Regions from separate parts of the Homo sapiens genome. Here all the other regions are linked to region 3. The links are contacts of gene promoters, found by promoter capture Hi-C in blood cells and fetal thymus (Javierre and others, 2016). All regions are on one chromosome and are shown on one strand. Each heading gives the region's core, a stretch centred on a gene start or on the middle of the fragment in contact. The rest is flanking DNA. Distances are from core to core; before and after follow the strand shown.

Evidence for each region. The method cuts DNA at HindIII sites, captures the fragments that hold promoters and counts their contacts. A CHiCAGO score of 5 or more calls a contact.
Region 1: a contact is called between a fragment that was not itself captured here and the fragment with the promoter of DYNC1LI1 in region 3, in 2 of 17 cell types (neutrophils and erythroblasts). The highest score is 10.4, in neutrophils.
Region 2: a contact is called between a fragment that was not itself captured here and the fragment with the promoter of DYNC1LI1 in region 3, in 1 of 17 cell types (erythroblasts). The highest score is 5.3, in erythroblasts.

What each region holds. Positions count from the first base shown.
Region 1 is chr3:32,675,923-32,680,742 of GRCh38, forward strand. No RefSeq gene overlaps it. Among named protein-coding and RNA genes, the nearest start is that of CNOT10, 6.9 kb to the right of the region's middle. The HindIII fragment of the contact is 3,283 bases long and covers 77-3,359 here.
Region 2 is chr3:32,649,664-32,654,566 of GRCh38, forward strand. No RefSeq gene overlaps it. Among named protein-coding and RNA genes, the nearest start is that of CNOT10, 33 kb to the right of the region's middle. The HindIII fragment of the contact is 6,784 bases long and covers 1-4,903 here.
Region 3 is chr3:32,569,045-32,573,916 of GRCh38, forward strand. DYNC1LI1 (dynein cytoplasmic 1 light intermediate chain 1) reads right to left here and starts at 1,814. Exons shown (of 13, transcript NM_016141.4): 1 at 1,581-1,814; 2 at 1,302-1,375. The coding sequence starts at 1,726. RefSeq lists an enhancer at 1,022-1,807 and silencers at 1,082-1,571, 1,752-2,011. The HindIII fragment of the contact is 15,701 bases long and covers 1-4,872 here.

The DNA of each region.
Region 1 (4,820 bases), core at 468-2,967, 110 kb after region 3:
GGTCAAACAAAATTTACCAGACTTGGGTCCAACGGTTACTACCACACTTTAAGTTAGCAAATAGCTTTCCCTTGGAAGCTTGATTTGAACAGCCAGTGAAAGAGAAGCACAGTTGGGCCAGGGGCTTGATGTCCCTGGGTATGTTACTGCTTTGGAAAAAGGGGCAGAAATTTATGCTTTTGCACCTTTGTAGTACTTCTTGGTAACAGAGTGTTCCTGTGATGAATCAGTTGCAAAACCATTTGTAGTTTCCATCTAAATCTTGATTATGGGAATAATAACACCTTGATTTAACCCTCAGGGACCTAGAAAGAGTCACATCTAGAGTCCAAGAACTCTTTTCAAGTTCTAGTTCTAATACTTACTAGCTGAGCAAGTTGATCTACTGATTTACTTTTCAGAAATCAAAAAAAGCCGCACTTTCCTTATCTATAAAATGGGTATGAATATCCTTATCACAGGGATGTTAAGGATAAAAAGAGAAATAATTGTACAAACTCTGTATGAAACCATCAAAGGCCATACAAAAGTAAAGACTGTTTAACACCCCGATATAGTGAGGAATTATATTTTAAAGTTGTGTGGTTACAGATATCATAGTGCTTACTACGCATCGGACGCATATACAAATCAATGGAAATACAATATTGATAATATTTAAAGGCAGAATTTGGAGATTACAGTTAGGGTGGTGGCAAGGGGATTCATGCCAAGAGATTGTCCCCGAAGTGTAATAGAAGATTTGAAAGATGTTAGTACAGTCTTTTTTTTTTTTTTTGAGATGGAGTCTCGCTCTGTCGCCAGGCTGGAGTGCACTGGCACGATCTTGGCTCACTGCAACCTCTGCCTCCCAGGTTCAAGCGATTCTCCTGCCTCGGCCTCCCGAGTAGTTGGGACTACAGGTGCACGCCACCACGCCTAGCTAATTTTTGTATTTTTAGTAGAGACGGGGTTTCACCATGTTGGCCAGGATGGTCTCAATCTCTTGACCTCGTGATCCGCCTGCCTTGGCCTCCCAAAGTGCTAGTAGTACAGTCTTTGGCAGTCAAAAAAGTCTTCTTGGGAAAATGACACTCGTCCTTCCTTGGAAGGTGATGGCATTGGCTACACAAGAGTGTGTGGCCAGGCACAGTGGCTCACGCCTGTAATCTCAGCACTTTGGGAGGCCAAGGCAGGTGGATCACCTGAGGTCAGAAATTCGAGACCAGCCTGGGCACATGGTGAGACCCCATCTCCATTAAAAATACAAAAATTAGCCAGGCATGATGCTGCATGCCTGTAGTCCCAGCTACTCAGGAGGCTGAGGCAAGAGGATTGCTTGAACCCAGGAGGCAGAGGTTGCAGTGAGCTGAAATTGTGCCACTGCACTCTAGCCTGCGTGACAGAGAGACTCAGTCTTAAAAAAAAAAAAAAAAAGAGCATGTGGAGTGGAGGCTAAAGGGGATTATAGACAAATGCCATGGCAAATGCAAAAAAACAATATAGTGCCTCTGAGGAACCCCAGTAATATGGCCAAAGTGGGGAGTATGGAGACATGAAGCCAGAGGTCACAGCCAGATTGTGAAGGCCCTTAAAAGTCCTTGTAGGTCGGGCACAGTGGTTCACACCTATAATCCCAGCAATTTGGGAGCCCAAGCCGGGTGGATCACCTGATATTAGGAGTTCGAGACCAGCCTGAGCACCATGGGGAAACCCTGTCTCTATTAAAAGTACAAAAAAATAGCCAGATGTGGTGGCGGGCACCCGTAATCCCAGCTACTCCAGAGGCTGAGGCAGGAGAATCACTTGAACCGGGAGTTGGAAGTTACAGTGAGCTAAGATCTCGCCATTGCACTCCACCCTGGGCAAGAGCAAAACTCCATCTCAAAAAAAAAAAAGGCCTTTTAAGGAGTTTGGACTTGGTACTAAGAGCATTGAATTGTCTTAAATGGGTGTGGATATAATCCAATTCATATTTCTAAAAATCTTTGGCTAAATGGAAGGATTCTGGAGGAAAACAGACCAGATGAAAAGGTTGAAGTGGCGCTAGTCTCAGTTGGGATTTAGGCTTAGGAATGGAGTAGCAGTGAGAATGGGAAGATCCAGCCTATTTAAGAAGTAGAATGCACAGACCTTGGTTGGTTGAACTAGATGGGGAAATGAATTAGTAGATGTTTCAGTTACCTGTTGCTGCACAACAAAGCATCTTCAAACTCAGCAGTTTAAAAGAATAACATGGGCCAGGCGCGGTGGCTCACGCCTGTAATCCCAGCACTTTGGGAGGCCGAGGCAGGCAGATCACGAGGTCAAGAGATTGAGACCATCCTGGCCAACATAGTGAAACCCCGTCTCCACTAAAAATACAAAAAATAAGCCGGCCGTGGTGGCGGGCGCCTGTAGTCCCAGCTACTTGGGAGGCTGAGGCAGGAGAATCACTTGAACCCAGGAGGCAGAGGTTGCAGTGAGCCTAAATGGGTCACTTAGAAAATTGATGTTTGGGCCAGGCGCAGTGGCTCACGCCTGTAATCCCAGCACTTTGGGAGGCCAAGGCGGGTGGATCACCTGAGGTCAAGAGTTTGAGACCAACGTGGCCAACATAGTGAAACCCCGTCTGTACTAAAAATACAAAAAATTAGCTGGACTTGGTGGTGGGCGCCTGTAATCCCAGCTACTTGGGAGGCTGAGGCAGGAGAATCACTTGAACCCAGGAGGCGTAGGTTGCAGTGAGCCGAGATTGAGCCAGTCCACTCCGGCCTGGGTGACAATAGTGAAACTTTGTCTCAAAAAAAAAAAAAAAGTTCATGGAAAAATAGAATTAAAAAGATAAACTTCATTTCTTAACATAAACTTCATTGAGTTCAAGACACTTATAAATGATGATACCAGATCACTTGAGGTAAGGAGTTTGAGACTAGCTTGGGCAACTTGGTGAAACCCTCTCTCTACTAAAAATACAAAAATTAGCCCAGTGTGGTGGCGCACGCCTGCAATCTCAGCTACTCAGGAGGCTGAGGCATGAGAATGGCTTGAACCTGGAAAGTGGAGGTTGCAGTGAGCTGAGATCATGCCCCTGCACTCCAGCCTGGGCAACAGAGGGAGACTCCATTAAAAAAAAAAAAATCTTAAAGGGCACCCATTTTATTCAGCTAACAATGAAAAAAAGACATGCATTGACATGGTTAAATCCCCAGGCCCCTCAGTTCTTTAGTGATCTGCCTGCCTTAGCCTTAAGGTTAGAAAAAAAAAAGTCAGAAGAAGCCAAATCATGACTGTAAGGTGGATGCCTAATGATTTCCCACTGAAACTCTCAAAAAATTGCCCTGGTTTGATGAGAGGAATGAACAGGAGCATTGTTGTGGTGGAGAAAGTCTCTCTAGTAAAGCTTTCCTGTGTGGTTTTGTTTCTTTTCTTTTCAGTTTTTTTGTTTTTTGTTTTGTTTTGTTTTGGGACAGAGTCTCACTCTGTCGCCAGGCTGGAGTGCAGTGGTGTGATCTTGGCTCACTGCAATCTCTGCCGCCCTAGTTCAAGTGATTCTCCTGCCTCAACCTCCCAAGTAGCTGGGACTACAGGCACATGCCACCACACCCAGCTAATTTTTGTATTTTTTAGTAGAGACAGAGTTTCACCATGTTGGCCAGGATGGTCTTGCTCTCTTGACCTCGTGATCTGCCCACCTCAGCCTCCCAAAGTGGTGGGATTACAGGCGTGAGCCACCGCACCCGGAATTCTTTTCTTTTTTTCCTAAAACTTTGGCTAACTTTCTTAAAACACTCTCATAATAAGCAGATGTTATTATTCTTTGGCCCTCCAGAAAGTCAACAAGCAAAATGAGTTGAACATCCCCAGTAACTGTTGCCACGATCTTTGATCTTGATTGGTGTGCTTTTGCTTTGACTGGACCCCTCCAACCTCTTGGTAGTCATTGCTTTGATTATGCTTTGTCTACAAAATTGTACTGGTAAAGCCATGTTTCATCTTCTGTTACAATTCCTAGAAGAAATGCTTAAGAATTTTGATCCCATTTGTTTAAAATTTCCATTGAAACCTTTGCTTGTCTACAGTTGATCAGGGTGCAACTGTTTGAGTAACTATTTAATGGAAATTTTGCTCAACTTTAATTTTTTAGTCAGACTTGTGTAAGCTGAACCAATTGAGATGTCTATGGTATTGGCTATTTTTTCTGCTGTTAATCGTCTGTCTTACTCAATTAGGGCACAAACCAAGATAGATTTTTTTCCTTGAAAATTGATGTGGATGATCTGCCACTTTGCACTTTGTCTTCAACATTGTCTCATCCCTTCTTTTTTTTTTTTTTTTTTTTTTGAGATGGAATCTCACTGTGTCACCCAGGCTGGAGTTCAGTGGCACGATCTTGGCTCACTGCGGCTTCACCTCCTGGGTTCAAGTAATCCCCCTGCCTCAGCCTCCTGAGTAGCTAAGACTACAGGCACGCCCCACCACGCCTGGCTAATTTTTGTATTTTTTCAGTAGAGTCAAGGTTTCATCATTTTAGCCAGGCTGGTCTTGAACTCCTGACCTCAAGTGATCCACCCACCTCGGCCTCCCAAAGTGTTGGAATTACAGGCATGAGCCACTGCACCTGGCCATCTCATCCCTTCTTAAAACGAGTTATGCATTTGTAAACTACTGATTTGCGGGGGGCATTCTCTTTATAAACCTTTTATAAAGGATAAATTATTTCACCATTCTTCCATCCAAGCTTTACCAGAAATGTGGTGTTTGTTCTTGCTTCAATTTTAGCAGAATTCATATTGCTCTGAAAGGGGCTCTTTTCAAACTGATGTCTTATCTTTCTTAGTGCCTCAAACTGGATCCTATTT
Region 2 (4,903 bases), core at 1,497-3,996, 82 kb after region 3:
TTGTTTTCACCTTTTGGCTATTATGAATAATGCTGCTATGAATATTTATGTATAAGTACTTGGGGGACTTTTTTTTCTGTTTTTTTTTTTGAGACAGCCTCACTCTGTCACCCAGGTTGAAGCGCAGTAGTGCAGTCTTGGCTCACTGCAACCTCTACCTCCCAGGTTCAAGTGATTCTCCTGCCTCAGCCTCCCAAGTAGCTGGGATTACAGGCATGCACCACCATGCCCGGCTAATTTTTTGCATTTTTAGTAGAGATGGTTTCACCATGTTGGCCAGGCTAATCTTGAACTCCTGGCCTCAAGTGATCCACCTGCCTCAGCATCCCAAAGTGCTGGGATTACAGGTGTGAGTCACCACACCCAGCCTCAAACATATGTTTTCAATGCTCCTGGGTATATACCTAGGTGTAGAATTGCTAGGTCACATGGTAACTCTATGTTTAAGTTTTTGATGAACTTCCAAGCTGCTAGCAAAAGTGGTTGTACTATTTTACATTTCGACCAGGAAATATGTAAGGGTTCCAATTTCTCCACATCTTTGCCAACACTTGTTATTGTCCATCTTTTTTATTATAGCCATTCTAGTGAGTATGAAGCAGTATCTCATTGTGATTTTGATTTGCATTTCTCTAACAATTAATGGTGTTAAAGATCTTTTCATGTGCTTTTTGGCCATTTGTATGTCTTTAGGGAAATGTCTGTTTAGATCCTTTGTCAATTTTTAAATTGGGCTATCTTTTTATTGCAGAGTTGTAAGAGTTTTTAAGTATATTCTAGATACTAGACCCTATCAGATATATGATATTCCAAATATTTTCTCCCATTCTGTAGGTGGTCTTTTCATTTTTTTTGAGAGTGTCCTTTGATGTTCAATAGTTTTTAATTTTGATAAAGTCCATTTTATCTATTTTTTCTTTGGTTGCTGGCTGTACTTTAAGTATTATAGATAAGAAACTATTGCATGATCTGAGGTCACAAAGTTTTATGCCTATTTTCTTCTAAGGATTTTACAGTTTTAGCTTCTTGGGATTTTGAAAGCAAACATACTATATTTGGGTGTGCTGCTCCAACCCACTTAGCATAAAGGAACCAATTTTGAGTGATGTCCCAAAGCAATAAAAAACTCTGCAGCAAATCCCGGCTGTGGTACAAGCCACTGTGCCACTTGGGCCTTTGGACACATAACACTTTGAATGTTCTTTGGTTAAAAAAAAAGGAAATTTATTTTGTATTTATTTATTTATTTTTTGAGACGGAGTCTCGCTCTATCGCCCAAGCTGGAGTGCAGTGGCATGATCTTGGCTCACTGCAAGCTCCGCCTCCTGGGTTCACGCCATTTTCCTGCCTCAGCCTCCCCAGTAGCTGGGACTACAGGTGCCCGCCACCTGGCCCGGTTAATTTTTTGTATTTTTAGTAGAGACAGGGTTTCACAGTGTTAGCCAGGATGGTCTTGATCTCCTGATCTCTTGATCCGCCCGCCTCGGCCTCCCACAGTGCTGGGATTACAGGCGTGAGCCACTGCGCCCAGCCAAAAAAAAAAAAAAAATTTTAAGGTACTAGACAAAGCCACTGGTGAGCCCCAGGAGGAGAATCTTAGCACACATATGTACAATTCTGGAGCAAAGTCATGCCCTCTTTTGCTGTTAATTATTCTCCTTTTGAGAAGCAGTTTCTGATTTACTACTAAGCCCTGCTAGAGACATGTTTGACTATGGGAAGTCAAGCATAGCCATGTGCTTTATCATGATGTTTCAATCAGTCATGAACCACATGTACAACAATGGTCCCATAAGATTATAATGGAGCTTAAAAATTCCTATTGCAAGGTTCAGCATAGTGGCTCATGCCTGTAATCCCAGCACTTTGGGAGGCCAAGACAGGAGCATCACTTGAGGCCAGGAGTTTAAGAACAGCCTGGGGCCGGGCGCGGTGGCTCACGCCTGTAATCCCAGCACTTTGGGAGGCCGAGGCGGGCGGATCACGAGGTCAGGAGATCGAGACCATCCCGGCTAAAACGGTGAAACCCCGTCTCTACTAAAAATACAAAAAAAAAATTAGCCGGGCATAGTGGCGGGCGCCTGTAGTCCCAGCTACTTGGGAGGCTGAGGCAGGAGAATGGCGTGAACCCGGGAGGCGGAGCTTGCAGTGAACCGAGATCCCGCCACTGCACTCCAGCCTGGGCGACAGAGCGAGACTCCGTCTCAAAAAAAAAAAAAAAAAAAAAAAAAGAACAGCCTGGACAACACAGTAAGACCCCATCTCTACCAAAGTAAAAATTTTAAAAAATCTAAAAATGAATTCCTATCACCTAGTGACATTGTAGCTGTTATAACATTGTAGCACAATACATTACTTGTGAATTTATGGTGATGCCGATGTAAAGAAACCTGCACTGCCAGTTGTGTAAAAGTGTAGCACTTACAATTAGGTAAGCACATAATACTTCATAATGATAATAAATGACTTGCTACAGGTTTATGTATTTACTATACTATATTTTTAATCATGGTGTCTACTCTTTGTACTCATTAAAAAAGAAAAAGGAGTTAACTGTAAAACAACCTGAGGCAGGTCCTCCAGGAGGAATTCCAGAAGAAGGCATTGTTATCATAGGAGATGACAGCTCTATGCACGTTATTGCCTCTGGAGAACTTCCAGTGGGAGAAAATATTGAGGGAGAAAATAATGACATTGATGACCCTGACCCTATGTAGACCTAGGAGAATATTGGTGTTTGTGTCTTAGTTTTTGGTTTTCTTTTTTTTTTTTTTTTAATTTTTTTTGAGGTGGGGTCTGGCTCTGTTGCCCAGGCTGGAGTGCAGTAGCACAATCTCAGCTCACTGCAACCTCTACCTTCCAGGCTCAAGCGATCCTCCCACCTCAGCCTCCTGAGTAGCTAGGACCACAGGCATGCACCACCATGCCCAGCTAATTTTTTGTATTTGTAGTAGGGATGGGGTTTCACCATTTTGCCCAGGTGTGGTGGTGCATGTCTGTAATCCCAACTACTCAGGAGGCTGAGGCGGGAGAATCGCTTGAACCCAGGAAGGGGAGGTTGCAATGAGCTGAGATCGTGCCACTAAACTCCAGCCTGGGCAACAAGAGCGAAACTTCACCTCAAAAAAAAAAAAAAAAAAAAGTCTTTAAGTAATTTTGAGTTGATTTTGACTGAGCATGGTGGCTCATGCCTGTAATCCCGGCACTTTGTAGGGGCGGAGGTGGGTGGATCTCCTGAGCTCAAGTGATCCTCAGCCTCCCAAAGTGCTGGGATTACAGGCATGAGTCACTGTGCCCAGCCTTGTGTTTCTGTCTTAGCTTTTAACAAAAAAATTTAAAAAATAAAAAACAAAATACTTTTTCTTTTTTTTTTTTTTTGGATACAGCCTCATTCTGTCGCCTAGGCTGGAGTTCAGTGGCGCAATCACAGCTCACTGCAGCCTCAACCTCCTGGGCTCAAGCTATCATTTCACCTCAACCTCCTGAGTAGCAGGGACTACAGACACACACCATCATGCCCAGCTAATGTTTATATTTTTCATAGAGATGAGGTTTCACCATGTTGCCCAGGCTGGTCTCAAACTCCTGAGCTCAAGAGATCCACCCAGCTTGGCCTCCCAAAGTGCTGAGATTACAGGCACACACCACTGCCCACTGTGCTCGGCCCAAAAATTTTAAAATAGAAAAAAACTTATACGATAAGGATATAAAGAAATAATATTTTTGTACAGCTGCACTATGTGTTTGTATTTTAAGCTAAGTGTTATTACAAGAGTCAAAAAGATTTCTTAAACTTTATAAGGTAAAAATATTATTGAAGAAAAAATATTTTTTATACATTTAGCATAGCCTAAGTATATAGTGTTTATAAAGCCTACAGTAGTGGCTGGGCGCGGTGGCTCATGTCTGTAATCCCAGCATTTTGGGAGGCCGAGGCTGGTGGATCACCTGAGGTCAGGAGTTCAAGACCAGCCTGCCCAACATGGCGAAACCCTGTCTCTACTAAAAGTATAAAATTAGCCAGGCGTGGTGGTGCATGTCTGTAATACCAACTACTCAGGAGGCTGAGGCAGGAGAATCGCTTGAACCCAGGAAGGGGAGGTTGCAGTGAGCTCAAATCGTGCCACTGCACTCCAGCCTGGCAACAAGAGCGAAACTTTATCTCAAAAAAAAAAAAAAAAAGTCTTTAAGTAATTTTGAGTTGATTTTGGCTGGGCATGGTGGCTCATGCCTGTAATCCTGGCACTTTGGGGGGGCCGAGGCAGGTGGATCACCTGAGGTCAGGAGTTCGAGACCAGCCTGACCAATACGGTGAAACCCCGTCTCTACTAAGAATACAAAAATTAGCCGGGCATGGTGGCCCACACCTATAGTCCCAGCTACTCGGGAAGCTGAGACAGGAGAATTACTTGAACCTGGGAGGCGGAGGTTGCAGTGAGCTGAGATTGCACCACTGCACTGCAGCCTGGGTGACAAAGCAAGACTCCATCTCAAAAAAAAAAAAGAAGTGTATAGCACCTCCCCCTTTTCTCTCTCTCTCTCCTGCCAGCCATGCGAACATGTGCCTGCTTCCCCTTTGCCTTCTGCCGTGATTGTAGGTTTCCTGAGGCCTCTCCAAAAGCAGAAGCCTGTACAGCCTACAGAACTGTGAGTCGATTAAATGATTAAACTTCTTTTCTTTATAAATTACCCAGTCTCAGATACTCAGGTATGTCCTTTTTTTTTTTTTTTTTGAGACAGAGTTTCTCTCTTGTCACCCAGGCTGGAGTACAATGGCACAATCTCAGCTTACTGCAACCTCTGCCTCCTGGGTTCAAGCAATTCTCCTGCCTCAGCCTCCCGAAGTAGCTGAGATTACAGGCACCCACCACAACGCCCAGCTAATTTTTTTGTATTTTTAGTT
Region 3 (4,872 bases), core at 564-3,063:
ATCACTTGCAAATATTACCACGATACAAACATTAACTCATTTGATTCCCGCCACAACCCTAGAGGCAAGTATTATTATTTCTATAACAACCATTTTAAAGATGAAGAAACTGAGGTTTATAGATGTCAAGCAACTTGCTTAAGATCCTAGGGCTTATATGTGATAGGGCAGTGACTCAATCCAGGCTAATCTTCAGTAGGTGCTTTCAACCACATTAAAAACAAGGGTAAAAACTAATTTTTCAACTAGCTCCATGTAGCTTTAAAGAATATCAATAATCATATATTCTTGCTTGGCAGCAGTCTATTAAAAAAGTAATTTTTTCTATGTAAACATTCATATTTAACCACGCAGCCTATCAAGTAGTATTTGACTTCTTGTTTCCTGTTTTTAGATGGATATAACCAAAACAACAACAACAACAACAAAAAACTCTGGTATTGAGCCGACACCAAATACCAAAGTTTTTAAATTTAATCATCGTATAAGCCAAACTTCAGTTATCTCGCATGTAAAGAGCTATATAGAGAAATTTCTCCTATAAATGATTCAGGAGCTAAGCCTAGAAAAATGCGAATCTGCGAACTATTCTCCCTCAGTCCTCTATCCCCACCCCCAGAGTCACTAAAGAAACAGAATACACAACTTCCAGAGAGCCGAGGAGATACAGAACAATCAGGAGAACTGACACTGGACCGTTTCTCCTTATTACATCCATTTGGCTGAAAAGACTTAACTAGAAAGTTGTGTTCTACTGCCCTTTACAAATTTCAGAATTATATGTGACAGTTAAGGTAGCTGCAACACGAGCACATTGTACCAGAGAACGCTGAATCAAGAACATTTATCGCCAGGTCTTAGTTCTAGCTTCTGTCAATTATACAAAGAGTCAGCTATTAAATATTAATGGCATGCCATTTGCGCTGCAGCTCTCGCAAAGAGCCTCCTGCTACCAATTTTTGTGATGAAAGAAAACCTGTCATTTTCTAGATAAACCCCAGGCCACGAGAATCCCTCAGATGAGCGATCGAATTCTGTCCTTCCCAGGGGAAGCTGTCAGGGCCACCCCCATATACCGGGGAGGAGGAGGAGGAACCTGAGGGAGGGCGGGTCCCCGCAGGTCCTGGGTCAAGGGTCTCGTGTTCCCCTTCTCTCCCAGCCATCCGCGACAGGTCGGGAGGCGAGGCGGGGCGGGGCTGGGCCGGCTGTCCGCACAAAGAGAGCCAGCGAGCTAGCCCGCGGACCAGGTACCCCGGGCCGCTGGGGGCCGGGCGGGGCGGGGCGAGGCAGGGAACACTTACCCAGCAGTAGCACGTTCTTCCCCGCAGGGAGCTTGGAGCGCGAGCGGGTGGAGACCTCGCTGAGGATGCAGGACCTAACGGGAAGCAAGGCGTACGGTGAGGCCGGAGGCCGGAGCCGCAGCGCGGGAGGGACGGACCCGGCCTCGGCGCGCCGGGGATGGGGCTGCCGGGAACGCAGTGGCCGGGCCCGGCGCCGAGCTCCAGCGGGCACGGGATCCCGAGGCGTCCGCGCAAGGCCGGGGGAGCCAGCGGGGGCTGAGGGAGAGGTGGAGTCGTTACCAAAGGTTCTGCCCGTCCTCGTCGTCGCCTGCCGCGGCGCCACCGTTGCCCGACGCTATCTCGTTGCCCAAGGGGCCGCCAGTGTAAGTCGAGGATAATCCCGGCGGAGAAGAACCGAAGGAGCCGACTCGCCCCACGGCCGCCATCTTGGTCGGGAATCACACCACTCCCGGCAAGACTAAATGTGCGAGGCGGCTGAGGCGGTGGCGGTGGAGGCGGCGGGAACCCGGATATGGGGCGTTCAGCGCACGGGAGCGGGGCGGGGCCTGCGGGGGCGGGGCCCCGGGCCGGGCCAGGACTGATGGAGCGAGCGAGAACGGACTGCGCGTGCGTGGCTGCCTGGCCGGCGCTGAGGGGCTGAGCGTACGCGGGCGGCGGGGTGGGCCGCTATGCTGCAACTGAAGCCCAGTGATCTGACAGTATGGAAGTGCTTTCCTTCCGCTCATCCGCGGCCCTGGGCTGCGGCAGGGGGGTTGGGTGTGTCAGGTGAAAAGTGCTCCCTCCCACCCTTCAGACAGGTCCCCAAACCCTGCGGCCTGCGCGGAATTCCTGCATTGTCATTGCCGGCCCACCCACTGTTCAGGCTGAGAGCGGTCCCCCGCCCAAACCGGCGCTTCGCCGGCGCCAAGATAGAAATGGGTCGCCCGGCTGGTAAAGAGGCTGCCCTGCAACCCTGGGCTGGAGTATTGCTGTGGTCCTGGATTTCTGGACTTTATTTGCGTTCTCAAGTGGCGAAGTGTTCCTCAACCTGGACCCACATCAGAAGCAGGTTCTCCGAGCCCCTAAGCAGCGGCGTGACAAAGTAATTGTTTACCCTGGAAATAGACTGTTATTTTTTAAAAATTATTGTCAGGGCTTGCTTTAATGTTCTTAATGTTTTTGTATGAGATCCTCCATGTGAGATTTGAAAAGATCCACTATGCGGGTCATCTAACCGGTCACTAGACATTGATTCCACACTTACTACGTCGAGCACAGTTGACACTGGGAATACATGGATGGACTTATACTAGCCCTAAAATAACTCCTTTTCTATTAGAACTTTACTAGGTAAAGGTATTTGAATGTCTGAACTCCATGTTTAGAAGGAGTCATTGGTTTTAAGGCTCTGTCCTAGTACACCTGTAAGAGCATTTGCTTAAAATTGCCTGGCCTTTGTATGTTATCTCTGTCACTTCATATTTGAAAATCACTTGCTAGAATATGGCCTGATCAATGCTGTTATGCTAGTGAGAAAATCCACAACTAAAGACTATTTGCTATATATTAGCATTACGGTTAGAAGTCTGGAAGCCTTTGGAGGCTGGCAAATCTGAGTTCAGGTCTAGCTCTTCGAGTTTACTGGCTGTGTAACCTTAGGCAATTTACTTAACCTCCGTGAGTCTCAGTTTCCTTATCTGTCAAATGAGGATAAAAGAACTTAGAGTTGTTATTGAGATTAAACGGGATGATTCATGTAAAATGGCTTAGAATAACGACTGGCAAATCTTAAGCGCTTACCACATGTTAATTGTTATCAATGACTTTCTTTACCTTTCACACCATTAATATCTGACCAACCTCTAGAAGTGATGGGCCTAAAGAACTCTTGGAGCTAAAATTCTTTGTCACCTGTAATGCCAGCGCTTTGGGAGGCCAAGGCAGGCAGATTGCTTAAGCCCAGGAGTTCTTGACCAGCCTGGGCAACATGGCGAAACCCCGGCTCTACAAAAAATTAGCCAAGCGTGGTGGTGTGTGCCTATAGTCCCAGCTATTTAGGAGGCTGAGGTGGGAGGATCACCTGAGTCCAGGAGGTCGAGGCTGCAGTGAACTGTGATCATGCCACTGCAATCCAGCCTGGATGACAGAGCAAGACCCTGTCACTAAATAAATAAATAAATAAATAAAATAAAACTTTTGATTTTGTTGTTTATATACTTAAGAAAGGAACCAGAACCCTCCCCAGTAGTCCTACACTTTCTGTGGCACAAAGCAGGATGGAGACCCCCAGGAGAAGCTGAGTCTTTATGTTACTGTTCTAAAGGAGAGCTGTATACTGCTCTTGGCCCCTCTGAAAGCCATTTTACTCTGTACTTTATTCTTTCAGTCATCTTCCTCAGAGCATTTTCCCCTCAATTTTGTTGTCAGTTCCATATCATATTTGCTTAGTCTGAGAAGTGTTTACTTTTATAATAGTGTCAGGCTTCAACACCTCATGACTTCCAGATGCTCAACTACCCACCTAAATTGAGGTCAAAGTTGTATTCCTTGTGGTTTTATAATATCCCTATCCAGCATTCTTCCATTAAGGTGGCTGACAAAAGTGGTCATTTATGAATGCCTACTATGTGCCAGGCACTCTGTGTGTTGTATTTGCAATCCTCATACTTTGTAAGGGTCAGCAAAATTAAGTAACCTACCCCAGGTCACACAGATCAGAAGTTTATAGATAAGCTGAGATTTTTTACTGTCTAGTCTGTAAAATGACCTAGGCCAAACCATGTTAAAATAAATGTCCTCGTAATTTTAGATGCTATTCTGGTAAATACCTTCTGTGAAAACCTCTACATTACAAAAATAGGGAAGCTATATATTATGAGGAAGTCTATAAAAGGAAATAATTCATCAGTCCCTTGGAATTTTTGTTGCATAAATGCTGTTTTATAATTGACCTGTTTTCTATACTATGATTGCTTTTTCTTTATTGCCCAATGTTTTCTTACATCTAAAATTAATAACCATCTTGTTTTTCTTTTTTCTTTTTTTTTTTTTTTTTTTTGAGACGGAGTCTTGCTCCATCGCCTAGGCTGGAGTGCATTGGTGCGATCTCGGCTCACTGCAACCTCCGCCTTCTGGGTTCAAGCAATTCTCCTGTCTCAGCCTCCCGAGTAGCTGGGACTACAGGTGCCTGCCAACACACCTGGCTAATTTTTGTATTTTTAGTAGAAACGGCGTTTCACCTTGTTGGTCAGCCTAGTCTCAAACTCCTGACCTCAGGTGATCCACCCGCCTTGGCCTCCCAAAGTGCTGGGATTACAGGCGTGAGCCACTGCGCCCGGCCAACCATCTTCTTTTTCATTTGCTTAGATTTCCATGTCTTTAATTCAGTTTCAAATTCCCGTCCCAGCTGTGTAAAACTCCTTGTTAGGTATTTTAACAATTTTACCTTCTTAAAGACACCTTTAAGAACCTTCTAGCCTGCTCCATTCTGAGTTGGTTATTCTGAAACTGAATACACAGCTGTCATCCTGTGATCTTTCACCATTGTTCAGAAGATTCCCTTTGCCTCAATCTTGTGTCTTCTTGTTTTAGT